Regions from separate parts of the Homo sapiens genome. Here all the other regions are linked to region 5. Evidence: promoter capture Hi-C in 16 types of primary human blood cells and fetal thymus (Javierre and others, 2016). All regions are on one chromosome and are shown on one strand. Each heading gives the region's core, a stretch centred on a gene start or on the middle of the fragment in contact. The rest is flanking DNA. Distances are from core to core; before and after follow the strand shown.

Region 1 (2,959 bases), core at 130-2,629, 200 kb after region 5:
GGCAGGACATCAAAAGATCTGCAGTCAATCCCAGTTTTATTATTTACAAATTGTGCGACCTTAGGGAGGTCACTCCTTAACCTTTGATCCATCCTTTCTGTACTCATGCAAAACATGGATATAACTGTAACTGCTATATCAAAGAAAAAATCATGTAAGTTAGAGTACGTTGTAAATCACAGAGTGATTTTGAATCTAAAAGATTATCTGAGGGCTCTTGTTTCTCCTGTCTCTCAACTTTGAGCCTTCCTCTTTACCTTATCTTCTCTCAGAGTTTCTGTATTGATGACAAATAACTATAAAACTCCTATTGTGACCTCTGTTTCTAGCTTCAGTCACCGGTTCAACTGTCCAGACATTATAACATCCTCAAGGTCATGGAACTCTTTTCTATGTCTTCGCATGTCTCAGACCAACCAACCAGAACAAAACTAGGGAGACTGTATTTGCTCATTCATAATTTAAATAAAACCTCAATTTAACACATCAAATCTAGCCATTTTTTTCCCAAACCTGGATTTTCTTTCTCCAAACTTTCCCCTTTTTCATAAATGTCACCAATACTCTGGAGGCACCTGGGAATCCAAGGCATTGTTGTTCCTTTGTTACCACTTTCAGTATTCAGTCTGGCATGAAGTATTTTTGATTCTTGCTTTTCTGCCCTCTTTTGTGTCCCTCTCCTTCATTCAAGTTTCCTACCAGCATCCTGGTTTATATTTTTATTACTTCCTGTAAAGACTATTACAATAGTCCCTTGGTTTACATCTCCAACCACAAGTTCTCTTTAATCCATCTAGTACCTTGCTGCCAGATTCCTTTTCTGAAAAAAAAAAATTGTAAAACCAGGTCTGAGAGTGAACACCTAGACAAATTCAGACTTGTCTGAGTTTGCCTGATAGTTACATAAGGAACTTCAGATCTTCAAAGGTTACCGTCACCTGAAAAGAAGGGAAATTCTCAATAGTTGTGATAGGCAGCCTCTAAAATGGCCCCTGTGATCTCTCCTTTCTGGTATTCATACCCTTATGTAATTCCCTCCCCTTGAATGTAGGCTGGACCTACTGGTTTGCATGTAACAAACAGAATATGACAAAAGTGAGGAGACGTCATTTCAGAGATCAATTTACAAAAAACAAACAGTGATTTTCCTCTTGCTTGCTCTCATTCACTCGTTTCCTCACTTGCTCTGAGAGAAGCCAGCTGTCATGTTCTGAGCTACTGTATGATAGGCCAATGTGGCAAGGAGCTGGTGTCTAGTCAATAGGAGACCCGAGCCCTGCCAACAGCCATGTGAGTAAGCTTGGAAGTAGATCCTTCCCCATTTGAGCGTTGAGATGACTACAACCCTTGTTAATATCTTAACTGGAGCCTTAGAAGGGACCCCAAGCCAGGGGACCCAGGTAAGCCATGCCTAGATTCCTCACTGACAGAAACCATGAGATAATAAATGCTTATTGTTTCAAGCTTCTAACTTTCAGGATAATTTGTTATGCAACAATAGATAACTAATATAACAGTTTAGTATGTATAAATCCACCTTGCTTTCTGGTGTCCTCCTTATCCCCTACAACTTGTGGTCAGAGCCCAGGGGGCAACAGGCTGCGATAATAATTTTCAACAAGACTCTGAGAAGAGAGAACCTGCTACTTCATGGACCAAGTAACGGAGTATAATATGAGTGGGAGTTATCCCACTTCAGCAAAGGGACTAGGGAGGAGCTGAGTGTTATGGCCACCAGAAGTACATTAAAAGCAGGAGAGATGACCATGATCTGGGTGCCACAACGTCTACACCAGAGATGACAGGTGATGTCTTAGCAATGGTTCAGGACACCTGCAGCCATTGGTAGGGTCTATCACAGGGAGTGGGAAGGAACACAAGATAGGCAGGAAGAAGCCAATCAGAGTTACTTATAATACACCTCAGAGTCTTTCTAAATGACTTGAGGAAAGCTGGTACCAAAGCCAGAATGCATCTTCTTTGTTTCTTTTGTACTATTGGGGCCCCATTAATCCTCCACGTAGGTGGAAGTGTGGGAAATATGAACCTTACCTGCTTCCATCATGTCACCTCACTACTCTTTATTGTCTATATTTGAACATTCCAACAGTCAGCTTCTAATTCTGTTCTGTCCCATCTATATTCAAATGGATGTGCATACTCTCTCTTAATGCACTGCATTCACTCTCCCCAGCCTTCTCACTGAATATAACTGTCCTCTCACTCCTTAACTAATGCCTATCAATGTTCAAAGTAGAAGGGAAATCTTGTCTTACTTTCCATGTATCATGCAAAATGATTTCCATGATTCCTCTGTGAGTATCCACCATGAAATTATGAAAACTCAATCTATCAATTGAGTATAACAATTAATTTAGAACATGCCTAGTATTGGTTGGACATTCCCCAAAATGCACAATACATCTATAACATGGTCACTGCTCTTAAAGTCTCTTAATTTTATTATAAAGGGAAAAACTTCTCCTGTGAAGCAATCAGAGAACATAGATATATCAGCATATCAGTGGTTCTTTAATAACAAGTCAAGTTGCTGCTCAGAGTTGCTTACTTTTTAAAAGAAAATGAGGTTAAGAAATAAGAGATTAAAATGTTTTTTGCTATTTCCACCCTCACCTTGATATCGATTATAAATGGGAACTTCTAGGCTATAGTGCTGGCAAAGATGGTTGCCTCAAAGGTGGTCTCTGCTTCAAGCTGATTAATGAAGTTATTCCTGGTGAGACATTAATTTTACTGCTGTCAGCTGTCTGTCACTAAATCCAGACATTTGGATTCCAAAAAGAAGTCTTGAGGGAATAGGAATAATGTGAATGAACTAATTTGGCCAACATATAAAATTCATGTTGTAACTAGTTATGTAATACCTGCTAACACATTAATATGCCCCCCTCTTCCACTGGGCCCATATGGTTTAAGAAGCAGAAAGCCTGCATTCCTT
Region 2 (2,803 bases), core at 173-2,672, 170 kb after region 5:
ATCAGGGGGAATACAATAGATGGGTATAGCTTGAAAAATCTCTAGATATTATTAATTGTCATGCTATTTTCGACAGACCTATAAACTGTTTATGATTTTTTCTACTTAGTAAAATCTTTGATACCTTCAGATCTTATCCACAGTCCAACAATTTCTCACCACCTCTGTTTGTGACTCCCATTGTCTAAATCACTATCAAATCTCACCTGTATTAATGTCCTTGTCTAACTTGCATTTGGAGTCTATCTTTGCTCCACATCAGTCTAATCTCAACCAATTCTGTCATAACCTATCACATCTCTGCTTAAAAATCCAGCAATGGCTTCCCAGCATACTCAGAATAAAAGCTGAAGTCCCTCAAGTCATTCATAATATTTTGTATGACCTGGCTACCATCAACTCTCTGGCCTCAACCCTTATTTTTCTCATATGTTACCGATGTTTACTAGGCATGCTGTCACCACCCAGATCTTTAACTGGCTGTTTCCTTAGTTTTAATTGCATTTCCCTAAGAGTCACATGGCTTACTTCCTCCTTTGCAAATTCTTCCTTCCGCACTTTTTTCTCCTTAGTGTTTATCTCTATATATTTTAGTTATTTATACTGTTTATTGTCTTTTCCACTATAATGCAAGCTTCATTTCCCCCTAAATTCCATGTTTGCCCTGTGATTTTTTTTCTTCATCTTATTAGCATCTGGCATTCTTTGAAGCAATCAGCTTGACATTTTTGCCTCAAAGCTATCACTTGTATCCCTCTCCCTGCTCAAGGCCCATCTTCAGTAGACTAAACAAATACCAGAATCACACACACACACACACACACACACACACACACACACACACACACACACAATCCTGTATACTAGTAAAGGAGTGAGAAGGAAAATACTCTAAGATAAAAGGATAATAAGTTTTTACACAGTAATTCTGTTTAACAGGTAAATAAATGCAGGATAACAGAAGGCAGAAACCTGATTTATTGCAGAAAACGGATGGAAAAAATTCTAAACACAACAGATGAACTCCAGAGCCCTGCTGTGAAAACAAGGAATTTCAATTCTGGTCAAATTCTCAACAGTGGCATAACTCTTAGGAAATCTCAGACTTCTCAGTCTTCAGATACTTTCTGTCTAGGTCTACTTTTCTGCATATTCCTAGATTCTTATCTATTCAGACATGCATCTGGGTGACAGTCATTTTAAGTCAAGATAGGAAGGATTGTCTTTCCTTATGTCTCCAGGCCCTTAGGGATTAAATAGACTTTATTGGTTATATAACTGTCCTTTAACCTGCAACTTCGGGGCCACAGCCTTTTTTTGAGGCTTACTCTGGGAAAATAAATCAATAAGAGGGGCCCTTATTAGACTTTTTTCCAACTTAAAGAATATCCTTATCCATAATACTCCATAGAAGTCTCAATGCCAATTAGTTGGTGCAAAAGTAATTGCAGTTTTTGTTATTACTTTTAATGACAAATAAAATTAATTTGTCAAACACTTTTACAACAGTTAAGAACTCAACTAGCTGGGATAGAGAAATAAAAATTTTATTTTAATGACAAATAATTGTTCACACACTTTTACATCAGTTGAGAACTCAACTAGCTGGGATGGAGAAATTTGCATCAAACACTACCATTCTGACTTAGAATAGTGGTCTTTATATTTTTCCTCATAAATCCTTTCCAAAATTTTGAGAAATAATTTATCTCCTCAAAAGTTTGTTTGCAGGAAAAAAATCATCAAATTATTAAGTAGTTGTAAAGCATTTAACTTCTGGCACATTGTAAAAGTTGGACTTTAGCAAATAAAACTATTACAACATTCTTCTAAGTATTTTATGAGAAATCAAGTGCTATATGATAACCACCATAATCCATTTAAAATGTATTTCTAAATTCTTCCTTAACATTTAGAAATTTTCATTCTTCCTTTTTGTGAACTCATATTAATATTTTACTATACTTCCCAGATATTTATTTTTATGTAATATATTTTGTGCTTAAAAATTATTTTGTTGATCATCATACCATGCTTATCTGTAACAAATTGCACATATAGCTTTAAATTTTACTTTTTAATTATCTCTAACCATGAGACTTTAACTGTTGTGATGTTTTTCTGGCTTGAGCTACCAATATAATTTTTAATAATATAGTCTTCTTCAAAATAACAAAAATATTAATTTTTTTTGTAAATTAAACATAAAAGTAAGCTTTTAATGAAAAAGCTTCTTGAAATGAGATGAAGAATAAAATCTCCTTAGGCTTTTAGTGAAAAAGAATAATGTTTACTGCTAAAGAATAATGTTTTCTGCTAAAAAATAATTACACATTATAACAGTAAACATTGTATAAAATGAAATTTTATGAAGATTGACTATAATAGGAGTACTTTATATATTATATATACAAGTTTCTAGCCCCTATTCCAAGAGATTTTAATTTATTTGTTTGTTGCCTATACTTTGAGCAACACTGGCTTTGTAGAACCTATTAAATATTTGGGTGCAAACAAGAGCCCTTGAAAGTTGCTATGTTAAGGACTGATGTGATCAGAAACTGCAGAAAGAGCAAATGAAGAGTGGATTGTTTTGGGCCAAAAAAGGCAATAAGGATACCAGTTATATTATTTCAGTAGTCCAGGTGGGAGAGGATGGTGCTGGTATTGGTAATGGAGAGAAATAGGTGCCAAATACATCCTGGAGATAAAATTAAACACAATATGATGATTAATTGAATGTGGGAAGTCAGGTAGAAGTGAGTGTCAAAGATGACAGGTTTTTGGCTTAAGAAACTGAGTG
Region 3 (2,763 bases), core at 107-2,606, 220 kb after region 5:
ATATTTACTGCATAAATTTTATCTACAACGTGCTGTGGGGTGAACTGAAATTAAATGAAATTTATTTACTTAATAAATGTGTGATACAGTAAGAGAATAAGAGATGTGCAAACTCCTATAGTAGTAAGTTTACAAGAAGTATTGGTGGTGAGCCAGAGATGTAGCGGAGAAGGTGGCATTTCACAGATCCTTAAAGAAATGATAAAATATGTAGATGGAGAAGAAACTGGTGATGGGGATGGGATGGGGTGCTTAGTCAAAGCAGAAAAAAACTTCATAAGCAATGTTAGAGAGATCGTAAGAATCAGGTACTTATGGGGAGTAAGGAATATTTCCACTAAGGATGAGTTTTTTACAAAGGATGTAATGAAGGACAAACCTAAAGGCAGCTATTTGGATCAGATTATGAGGAGCAATAAATTCTAGGCTAAGAAAATTGATTTATTCTATAGGAAATAGGGAAATCATTGTGGTTTTTACATGGAGAAGTATATTGTCATAATAACATTTCAGGGAAAGTTTTCCAGTAGTGATGTTTTCAATATATTTAAGAGAAAGAGTTTGAGATGGGTAATTATTAAAAGCGTCTAAGTGAGTAATAATAAAGGATAATCTAGACTGGTGACATGCTTTATTTTATTAATATATCTGCATACTTAATACAATGTTTTGCATTACAAACAAATAAAAAAAAATTTATTCAGTATCTCCTTACTTAAAACCCAGGCAAGATGTCATATTAAAGGTTAATTATGGTGACAATAAAATTAAAAATAATTGTATCATTACTGACATGATATTCAATTCATGGGTATAAAATAAAATATAAGACAACTAAAAATCTCATAGTGTTTTATAAGCAAGTAGATATAAATAAAAAAGTAATCTAAGGAAAACAGATTTCTGCCAAAATGGAAAATTGTCTTAGGAACTGCTAATTGTCACCTGAGAATCTTTCCTCCCTTTCCATTTTAGTAATAAAACCCCCAAATTTATCAAGGCATGCGTTCCCCAGAATCAAAGTTATACTTCCCAGCTTTCCTTGTAGCCAGATGATGTCATGCCATTAAAGTCTGGTGAATGAGATTTAGCAAAAGTGTCCTGTGTGACTTCTAGAAAACATCCTTAAAGGGAAGGAGTGTGCTCTGCCACTTCTCTTCCTGCCAGCTGGACTGTGGACCTCATGGCTGGAACCTAAGCAGCCACCTTGCACTGAAGATAAAAGCCAGGTATTGAAGACGGCAAAGCAAAAATCCAAGAGGAGTCTGGATCTCTGATGATCATGGAGTCATCATAGTACTCGTGGAGAATACAAATCAGATAAATAAAAAAAAATGAATCTTGTTTAAATCACTGTTGTTTTGGTTTTCCATCACTTGCAGCCAAACCTGATCTTTAGAATTTAATATTGTTCTAGCACTTTATTGTCAAATGCCATGAGAACTGAAGGAACCCAGAATGTGAGATATGGTTTCAGGGTAGGCTTTACTATAAAACTGCTGTAGGGAGATACTGGGTAGGATCTGAGCGGAACAAAAAGAGAACAAAAAGGAAGAGAATTTGCTTGGTACAAATGTGTAAATCCAAGCCTATATTTTTGACATCTTTAGTATTACAGATATATTGCTTCTCCTGCTGATCAAGTTGGTGTAGGTAATAAATCATAAATCTGAGTATACAATAAAATCTAGACATGTTGTTATACCTGTTCTACAAGGTGTCACTGCTACCTAGAAGCAGCCTTGGATGTGGAAGAGGATTATTCTCCTGGTACCTGGTAAATTGGCCTGAGATTATAGAAGAGGCCTCTCTCTGTTGTAACTGTCATTCAGGAGGGTTTGGTGAGAAGGGAATAGAAAAGCATAAGAGCAATTAATTAAGAAGTAGATTTTTATTTAAATTGAACTTTCAGTCAATTTACAGATACATAAATGGGCATTTGTCATATAAGGCACTCAAAGATACGTTTATTTGTTACTCTAAAACACCTAAACCAGAGGATGAACTAATTAAGTATTTCTTAAATTGAGGAAAATGTCTTACACAGGCTTAATCAAAGCATAGCAGACTGAAGGAGGGAGCTTGTGCCTGGTCATTAGGGGCTCTTGGGCCAGGAGAGGAAGTAGAACCATTGTCATGGGACAGTAACTTGGGCTTTTTAAGTAGCAAGTAAAGATCGTCAGAGAGGCTCAACATAGACAGAAAGAGTCTGCTTCAGCAAAGACATGGAATGTAGAGCCAGGGACAGGGAGAAGTTTGGGCAGAAATCTTTTATCAGGGAGGTTCGTAAGGGAGTAAGGTGTCCTGGCAGGTGAACTCTGCAGAGCTCAAGAAGTCTAGAAACAAGCTGTGAGGAGGGCTGGCTGGCAGGTGGATTGGCAACATGTGGTGTTAGTCTAACTAGAGGGACTCCAGCTTAGGCCTCAGTAAGAACAGCTGGAGAATGTCAGGACAAATAACAAACTGAACTTAGATTTGGAAAACAAAATGGAGGCTTGGTGATGAGGAAGGATGTAAAAGACTGGCTATTCAGACCAGGTATAAAGAACAAGGTTAGAGGGGCCTTAGAGCAATATTTCCCTTGGATAAATAAGGTAACTGGATCCTGAGCTACTGAACTATGTAGGGATGCAGGGGTCCTTTTATTCTTGGGTCTAGAAGGATGTTGAGATCGTGAATGGGGTCCAATTGGCCTCACATCCAGAACCTAGAAGGCTTTAGCGAGAGGCAGGCAGCTAATCACATACTGAACAAAAAGGATTC
Region 4 (2,708 bases), core at 196-2,695, 150 kb before region 5:
AGCCAACTCCCTCGAGTACATTTTGATGGAACTCGGTACAACTAACACTACCTGAAGCTCAAGTCAAGAATCCTGAATTTCACTTTTATGGATGGCCGTTCTTCTCTTTAGTCAAGTCCCTAGTTCCTTAGGCCCTTGTTCTCAAAGGACCAAAAGAAGATTTTAATACCTGCCTTTTGATGATGGTAATCACCCTTTCTCTACCTTTGTGTGCATTCTAACACTACTATGTAATCAAGTATAGTTTTTGATATGTGGCATTAGCCATGTACTTGTAGAAATTTAACTTTTAACAGCTTTTGCATTATACAGAAGAGAAAATATGAACAGGGTACAAAAAGTCATAGAATTTAAATGCTGAAAATCATATGTTTTTTAAACTGCAGATTATGACACAGTTAAAAAAAGAGAAAATAGCCTGTATTTCTTGCTGGAGGTATACTGATGCATATCAGTTATATATACACACAAATGCAGAGGCTTGTGTGTACAGATCATGGTGTAAAATGTATTTCTCACAATGGGTTATGGTTGAAGTTTGAGAAACACTCTTATAAACCATTTTAGACTCAATGTTATGAATGCATTAAAACAGTTGCTTTTGAGTGAATTCTAAAAATATTAATGTTGTCAACACAAATTTTCTCTAAAGAATGTTTTGGAAAAGTAAATATATCCTCATTAAAAGCAGATCAAAGAAAATCACTGTCGAGTTTCTTTAGTCATACTTCTGTCATTATTGTCCAAAGCACTGACTAGTGGCTTCTACTAATTACTACATAGCGCACAGCCTTGGGCTCTGCCCTAAAAGCCTGGGATCTGACATCATTGGCCTTTCTGTTTTAGGTCAGGAAAGAAATGGGCTGTCTCTTTATCAAATTTGATAAGCTTCCATAGTGATCTGCATGCAAAAGGATTCCTGTGTTGGTTTTTTTTTTTTTTTTAACCAAAGTCACCCCAACCATTGTAATAATCATATATACAGTGTAATTATTGGAAAAATTTACCATTATAAAAATAACGAGAGGCATGTCAGTCATGGTTTCTAACCCAACTACTGACTCATGAATTATATACTTTGTAAAGTTAACTTTTAGAAATTTCCTTGAAGTCAGTGTAAACTCTTGTAGTTTTATTCTGTCAAAGAAGTTCATGCTTCAAAGAATATAACATTTGATATCAAATAGTTCTAAAACTAAAATTATTAAAAATACAAATAATTTCAAGTCTATTCATCTTTTTTTACATTTAAGCGTAATATAGTTTTCTGATCCAGACTCTTCCATGATACTGCTTTAAATTCATATTCATTTTGTTGATTCTGTTTGTCTACTCTAAAGCATATACCAACAATTAAGTTAGCTCAAAAAGTTGGTCTTAAACTTTATAGAGATTCTAATAAACTTAGAAATGACACAGTGAAGAGCCTCAATGGGTGTCCAGTTATCTGAGTACCCATAGATCACTGCACGTCTAATAAGATCAGGGTGTTGTGGACTACAGAAAATAGCACTGGGCTTGCAAGAAACAATTACAGAACCGCATATTTCCAGGAGAGGTGATTTGGAGCAGGTGCCCAAGGGTTTCTGAACCTCAGTTTTATTCTCTGTAAATGGAGATCATTATCATTGTCTTGGAGCTTTCTTGCATACTGAAAGGACTAAGAGCAAATGAAAGGTATAATCCTTGCTACAGAAAGTCATCTGGGGGTCTATACTAAATTGGTGGGCTGGAGTCTAGTGATTCTTACTCCCTAAATCAAACACTCTGACAACTCTGGGAAGTAATAACAAGCTCTTAAGATCAAAACAGTATCTTATTATCAATATAAAATACTGATCTTTTTAAAAGTATAAGAAAATTCATTTTATTCAGTAAATTTTCATTCAGTCACTTAAAAAGGGGTCACAATTTGCTATCATGCACTTAGGGTAATTGGGGAACCCTAGCATATATTGATAGGATTAAAAAAACATTAAATTTTTATTAAAATTAACAAAATACAAGCTTAAAAATGAAAATATACTCATAACTAAAAGCAACTTTATGTTTTTTAAATATAAGATTTTAAGCACCTCATTTAGAAACCCCACTGCTATAAAGTTGGCATAAAATTTCACAAAACAAATACTTTGAGAGAGGAGGAAAATGAATGACATAATCTGAAGTCCACAGTGCACATGAGGTGGAAATTTCTTTTCATTTTTATTCCAATTTGGATTTGTTTTGGGAAAGACATTTATAATTTATATAATAGCTGATTATCTTATTATCAATGCCAAAAGGAATAGGCCTAACACCAGAAGATACAGACGTGTTACATCTTCTTTGTTAGAATGAAAGCTTACATATTTTTCACTTGATGTCCCATCATATGAAATCTGTCCAATTTATTAGAATATAAACTCGATGACGGCAGGATCTTTTTTTTTTTTTTTTTTGAGACACAGTCTTGCTCTGTCACTCAGCCTGGAGTGCAGTGGTGTGATCTCGGCTCACTGCAACCTCTGTGTCGCAGGTTCAAGCAATTCTCATGCCTCAGGCTCCTGAGTAGCTGGGATTACAAGCATGCGCCACCATGCCCAGCTAATTTTTGTATTTTTAGTAGATACAGGGTTTCGCCTTCCTGACCTCAAGCTATCCACTCGTCTTGGTCTCTCTCAGTTCTGGGATTACAGGTATGAGCCACCATGCCTGGCCGGAATATA
Region 5 (2,700 bases), core at 87-2,586:
AGTTTTACAAGTGGAAATTAGCAGTCCTCCTCCCCGTTTCTCCTTCCATTGCCAGGCTCAGCTCCTCTCACCCCAAGTACCTTCCTCCACATCTCTCCTCTCCCTCTCCAGAAAGCCCTACCTCCAGAGGGTGGGAGGAAGTTAAAGCGGCCCCCGCTGTTTACGCCCGGCCCTGCCCTCTCCTGCACTGATTCTGCTCAGGTCTTGATAGGAAGAGGGGGGCGTCCACGCCCCGCTCGCTCCATCCCACCCCATCCTTCGGCGGGAGCAGCCAGATCTGGCCAAGAGTGGGAGGCGCTCCCAGATCTGCCTTTCTCTGCAGCTCCTTGCAGCTCCTGCGAAGCTGCTTCCCAAACACCGAGAACCTTTTCCACCCAGGAAATGTGGGTCCAGCCCTTCCCCAAAGTAGAGGCTGGAAACCACCAGCGAGTCTCTACACCGGAATATTAAGGGGGTGAAAGTAAGGACCAGTCAAGAATGGTAGCGCATTCGGCCTCTAGACTCCAGAGAAGGAGAACAATGTCTTGAAACCAGGTGCAGAACCTCCACCTCTCCTGAGCATCGTCTCGGGAAGAACCAATCCATCCACCCCACCCCAATCACTACCACCAAGTAATGGGGCAGCAGGCTGCTAGGACCTAAAGCGCTGGCCTCAGCGGCAGCAGCGCCCACATCTGGACACGGCCCTCTCCCAGTGGGCCTCCCGAAGGCACAGGACCAGATGCACACAATGGGCATCCCCACACCTGCTGGGCGATGGCCCACCTCCCCCAAGCTGCTCTCCCGGGTCCGCTGAGCGGTACCAGGCACCCCCGAGACACGCGCTGGCAACCACGCGCGCAGCGAGAGGTGAACAATGGGGGGTCAAATTCGCCAGGAAACACGTCCCAGCCTTCTCCCCCGGCCAGAAGCGACCGCAGCGGAGGGAGTGGGCATAGGGGTCGCACTGGACGCAGACAGGGAGCTGGGAGAACCGGGCGACCCGGGGCCGCTTCCCGTGGGGCGCGGAAGGGACAGGAGGGATCCCCAGCCAGGGTGGCCGCTCCGCTCCCCCCCGCGGCCTCCGCCGTGTGGGCATCCCGAGGAAGGGGGGCCCCGATGAAGGGGCACCGGAGAGTCCCGGGCTTACGGAACGCCCCGGGGGTGCGAAGTCGGGTCCGGCTGGGACCCCGGCGCCGCCCCCGGCCCGCGTCTACACTAGCCCCGCGCCCGCCCCGGGAACTCGGTTACCGCCGCCTCCGCCGCGGCCCCCGCCGCGTCCTCCGGGGCCCGGGACAAGTCGGGCTCGCAGCTCGCGCCGTCCGTCGCCATCTTCCTGCTCTAGCGGATCCGAATGCGAGCTCGGAGCCGCGGCTCCGGACTCAGCCGTCTCCGCGCGGGCGGCACTTAACCCGCTGCTGTCCGGGACGCGGGCGCCTGGAGCCGGGAGCCGGGAGCCGCGGCACTCCCTCCGCCCCTCGCCACCGCCCTCGCCGCTTAACCCGCTGCGCGCCGGAGCGCCCCGCCTCGGTCCCGCCCCGCGCCCCGCGTCCCGCGCCCGGTGGCGCCAGCCGCGGGCTCGTGGAGGTGCGAGAAATGGGCGCACGACCTGGCTCCGCTGCGGCCCTGCGCGGGGACTGGGGATCAAAGACCACGGAAGAGGTGAAGGCAGAAAGCGCCCGAGGAGCGTTGCATTCCGCAGAACCCCAACCAAGCCGGAGAAATCCGTGCACAGACCAGATTAAATGTCAGGCCTCCTGAATCTGAATTCTCTGAAAGATCAGGGAAAATCCTACACTTCAGCTCCCTCTATCCCACCGCGAGGAATCACACAGGGCACCCCTTTCTTCTTAAATTGCTCTTTCTTAAATTTCATTGCCGCCAGGGTGTTTTTATCCTCCCTATATATATACACACCTGGCTCTGATTTATTCTATCGTTGACTCTAGTGTTTCTCCAAAAACAATTCTCAGATGAAAACGATTTGTCTGTCCTGTTTTCTTTTAGAACGTGGCACCAGCCCCTCAGCTCCTAACTTTCTATACAATCTCCTTTTCAGGGAATGTGTAGCGGGCTGTTTTATATTCTGTGACCCCCCTAAGTCTGAGATCTCTCCTGAAGGACTAACTGAGAAGTGTTAAATGTCATAGCTTTAAAAGCTAAATGTCATGTCCTCTACTTTTGAGAGAATTTAAAAAAATTACTCCCTACGTGTGAGGACACGTGTACATATACACCAAAAACAATCAAACAAAAGCCGTATTTGTAAAAATAGATTTTATGGGAATTACACGTCTCAGAAGATTTTTCATGAGATGAGTGAATTAGGCCCAAACGCTTAATCTTCCCTTTCCACATCTAATTCAGTTCCTACCCTTTGCTGCCAATTTCCAGAATGTGAAAATCTATCACCTCACCAAGACCATATGGTACAGCCCTTCCCAAATCACCAGATCCCTAAAAATGTGTCGAATGCATAAAATCAAATTGAGACATTCAAGCTGTGTCTCAAAGACGTAAAATCAAACCACAACCAAATCTTGCACTTGAAATTTTGGAAGATGAATGACTAGAATGTTCAGTCCAAGGGTTACAGATCAAAGCTTTTTTTTTTTTTTTCCTTTTTTCTTTCTTTCTTTCTTTCTTCTTTTTTTAATGGCAGGCTCCTAATGAAAGGTTTTGACTCTTTAATTGCTCCACTTTCCAAATTAGACCCAAATA
Region 6 (3,027 bases), core at 104-2,603, 240 kb after region 5:
CACAGCTGCTACAACTCTTTACAGCACACTCTTTGGTGTCTGTGAGTGGCCCAGTCCCCTAGACCGCTCTTTCACTGGATACCTGTGTCTAAGTGCATTTTTTCGTCTGTCACTTGGTCACGATCTGCAGGTTGAACCCAGCAGGTGATGGCCCGCATGAGGAATGCTGCAACGGTTCATGACAGAACCCTTGAAAACAAAGGTGAAGAGACTGTACAGTCAGTAAGTCAGTAAGTCATTGGTGCCCACTAGGGATTTCCAAGTTCAAGGGAATTGTTCAGGTTAGGGTTTCATCATGGGACAACAGTTATCAGCTCAACAGCAACAGTATACAGAAGTATTGAAACAGCTGCTTAAAGCTAGTGGAGCCTCAGTTTCACAGGCTCAATTAAGGGACCTAATGCAAACTGTTGTTTCCCATAACCCATGGTTCCTAGAAGAAGGTACACTAGACGTAGAGCTGTGGGAACAAGTGGGGAGAAATCTTAAACAACATCATGCACAAGGGCAACAGGTCCCAGTAACATCTCTAACATTATGGGCTTTATTTAGGGTGGCTGTAGTCCCGCTCTATGCAGAAGAGCCTAAAAAGGGAAGGGAGGAGGAACCGTCACCTACCTTACCACCTCCTTATCCCTCAGCCCCGCTAACACTGGGCCAAAATAACAAAGAGGAAATGAAGGTTTTGCCTGAGCCCCCTCCTCCAATAAATTGGAAAAAAGACAAGGGATACGCTACAGCTATGGGACCCTGTCTCAGGCAAGCGGCATTAGAAGGGGAACTCTAACCCTGCCAGGTAGTGCAAGATCAACAAGGCAATCAGGTACATGAACCCATTTCTTTTAACTCTTATAAAGAGCTAAGAAAAAGTATTAAAGAAAACAGAGCCACTAGCCCATTTATGAAAGGAATTATTGAAGCCATGGCAGACAACTTCCCATGGGACTGGTCAGTGCTAGCTAAAACAACTTTGGAGCCCAGCCAATACCTCCTCTGGAGGGCAGAATATGATGAGTCGTGTGAACAACAAGCCTACCAGAATCAGTTGGCTAGGCAAGACATAATGCTGATATGCTCCAGGGGAGGAGTCCCCATGCCGATGTACAACAACAACTAAATTTTGATCCCCAGGCCTATGTACATGTGTCTTTGTGTGATCTTAGGGCTTGACAAATTCCCAAAAGCGGAGTTCAACAGGGATCTTTTACAAATGTTCGACAAGGGCCTCAGGAGCCATTTGTTGAAATTATCATTCAGTTAACCCAGGCAATTAAGAGACAAATTAGTCATGCCCAGACCGCTGATATCTTATTTTTGCAATTGGCTTATGAAAATGCTAATGTCAATTGCCAACAAGCAATGCAGACAATCAGAGGAAAGGCAGCCACAGTCGAGGAACTTATACGAGCATGTCAACTGGTGGGGACTGAAACACACAAAGCCAAAATATTGGCTATGGCATTAAGGCCTCCTAAAGTGGAAAGGGACAGAAACCCAAAGTGTTTTCTATGCGGAGAGCCAGGTTATGTGCAGACGGAATGCCCCAATAATAAAGACCAAGGTAACTCAGGAAAAGAAACTCCTTCTATATGCCCCCAACGTAAAAAGGAGAAACATTGGGCAAATCAATTCAGGTCCAAATTTGACAAAAACAGCAACCCCATAAGTAACCAGGCGGGAAACTTCATGAGGGGCTGGCCTCAGGCCCCGCTAAAAGCTGGGGCAATGCCAGCGGCTTGCTTTGGTCAGATGGGAAGCCCACAGTCCTCTCTCTCAGAGCAGTCACTGCTAGGAGCGCAGAGCTGGACTTACTTTGCCCCAACAAATTAGTGCTAAAAGAAGGAGAAGACCCTAAAAAGGTTGCAACTGGGATCTGGGGCCCACTGCCTCTGGGAACAGTGGGATTAGTCCTAGAGCGATCAAGCCTATCCAGTAAAGGAATTAATGTGCTCACTGGGGTGATTGATAGTGATTATCAAGGTGAGATATTAGTTATGATGAAATGTAAAGGTCTGCATATTCTTCCCCCTGGATCAAAGATAGCTCAGTTACTGCTTTTACCATACTAGGTCCCCAACACCCATGGAAAGGAAAGGGGAAAAGGAAGTTTTGGAAGCACAGGAGCCACAGGAGTATACAGGAATCAATTAATCACTGATCAGAGACCCATGATTACCTTAAAAATTGGAAATAAGAATTTTACTAGCTTATTGGACACAGGGGAAGATACTTCAATCACTAGTGATCAAAACTGGCCAGAAACTTGGCCTCGGGCCACTCAGAAACAAAAAATTGTCAGCACTGGGGAAGCTCACACAGCCAAGCAGAGCATGTACCCCCCAACATGTTGTGATTCAGAGGAAAGAAATGCAGTTATACAACTTCTAATAACGTCCATCCCTGCTAATCTTTGGGGACGGGACCTATTAGCTCAATGGGAGGTCATTCTGTGGACCCCTTTCTAGTAATGGCCACTGTTATTATCCCTCCCCTACCTCTGATGAGGCTCTCTCAAGATCCAATTTGGGTAGACCAGTGGCCTTTAAAGGGAGAGAAATTGCAAAGAGCCCATGAGTTTGTTGAAGAGCAATTAAAAGCCAGTCATATAGAACCATCAAAAAGACCTTGGAATTCACCCATTTTCATCATTCCCAAAAAGTCTGGTAAATAGAGACTTTTGCATGACTAACATGCTATCAATGCTAATTTGAAACCTATGGGACCCCTTGAGCAGGTGTTCTCCTCCCCTTCAGTGATTCCTTGAGATTGGCATATAATAGTTATTGGCTTAAAATACTGCATTTGTACTATTCCCTTTGCAGAACAGGACAGAGAAAAATTTGTGTTTATAATACCAGCTATAAATAACGAAAGGCCAGCTCCCCGATTTCACTGGAAAGTGCTTCCTGAAGGGATGCTAAACAGTCCTACCATGTGTCAGTATCATGTAAATCAAGCTTTGCTCCTCAGTAGAAAAGAATTTCCTAATTGCAAGACTATTCATTTTATGGATGATATTTTACTAGC

The links. Contacts are between HindIII fragments. The CHiCAGO score rates a contact against its expected background, and 5 or more counts as called.
Region 1: a contact is called between a fragment that was not itself captured here and the fragment with the promoter of CTTNBP2 in region 5, in 1 of 17 cell types (megakaryocytes). The highest score is 5.1, in megakaryocytes.
Region 2: a fragment that was not itself captured here is called in contact with the fragment with the promoter of CTTNBP2 in region 5 in 1 of 17 cell types (megakaryocytes); the score reaches 6.0 in megakaryocytes.
Region 3: a contact is called between a fragment that was not itself captured here and the fragment with the promoter of CTTNBP2 in region 5, in 1 of 17 cell types (megakaryocytes). The highest score is 11.2, in megakaryocytes.
Region 4: a fragment that was not itself captured here is called in contact with the fragment with the promoter of CTTNBP2 in region 5 in 1 of 17 cell types (megakaryocytes); the score reaches 7.1 in megakaryocytes.
Region 6: a contact is called between a fragment that was not itself captured here and the fragment with the promoter of CTTNBP2 in region 5, in 1 of 17 cell types (megakaryocytes). The highest score is 9.2, in megakaryocytes.

Annotation. Positions count from the first base shown.
Region 1 is chr7:118,072,198-118,075,156 of GRCh38, forward strand. No RefSeq gene overlaps it. Among named protein-coding and RNA genes, the nearest start is that of LSM8, 110 kb to the right of the region's middle. The HindIII fragment of the contact is 165 bases long and covers 1,298-1,462 here.
Region 2 is chr7:118,041,802-118,044,604 of GRCh38, forward strand. No RefSeq gene overlaps it. Among named protein-coding and RNA genes, the nearest start is that of LSM8, 140 kb to the right of the region's middle. The HindIII fragment of the contact is 1,581 bases long and covers 633-2,213 here.
Region 3 is chr7:118,092,547-118,095,309 of GRCh38, forward strand. No RefSeq gene overlaps it. Among named protein-coding and RNA genes, the nearest start is that of LSM8, 90 kb to the right of the region's middle. The HindIII fragment of the contact is 6,249 bases long and covers 1-2,763 here.
Region 4 is chr7:117,721,330-117,724,037 of GRCh38, forward strand. All of the region lies in intron 19 of CTTNBP2 (cortactin binding protein 2), which reads right to left. All of the region lies in intron 1 of LOC105375469 (a long non-coding RNA gene), which reads left to right. Among named protein-coding and RNA genes, the nearest start is that of CFTR-AS2, 75 kb to the left of the region's middle. The HindIII fragment of the contact is 1,119 bases long and covers 887-2,005 here.
Region 5 is chr7:117,872,105-117,874,804 of GRCh38, forward strand. It overlaps CTTNBP2 (cortactin binding protein 2), which reads right to left and starts at 1,337. Exons shown (of 23, transcript NM_033427.3): 1 at 1,231-1,337. The coding sequence starts at 1,311. The HindIII fragment of the contact is 3,697 bases long and covers 1-2,580 here.
Region 6 is chr7:118,114,428-118,117,454 of GRCh38, forward strand. No RefSeq gene overlaps it. Among named protein-coding and RNA genes, the nearest start is that of LSM8, 68 kb to the right of the region's middle. The HindIII fragment of the contact is 3,203 bases long and covers 1-2,955 here.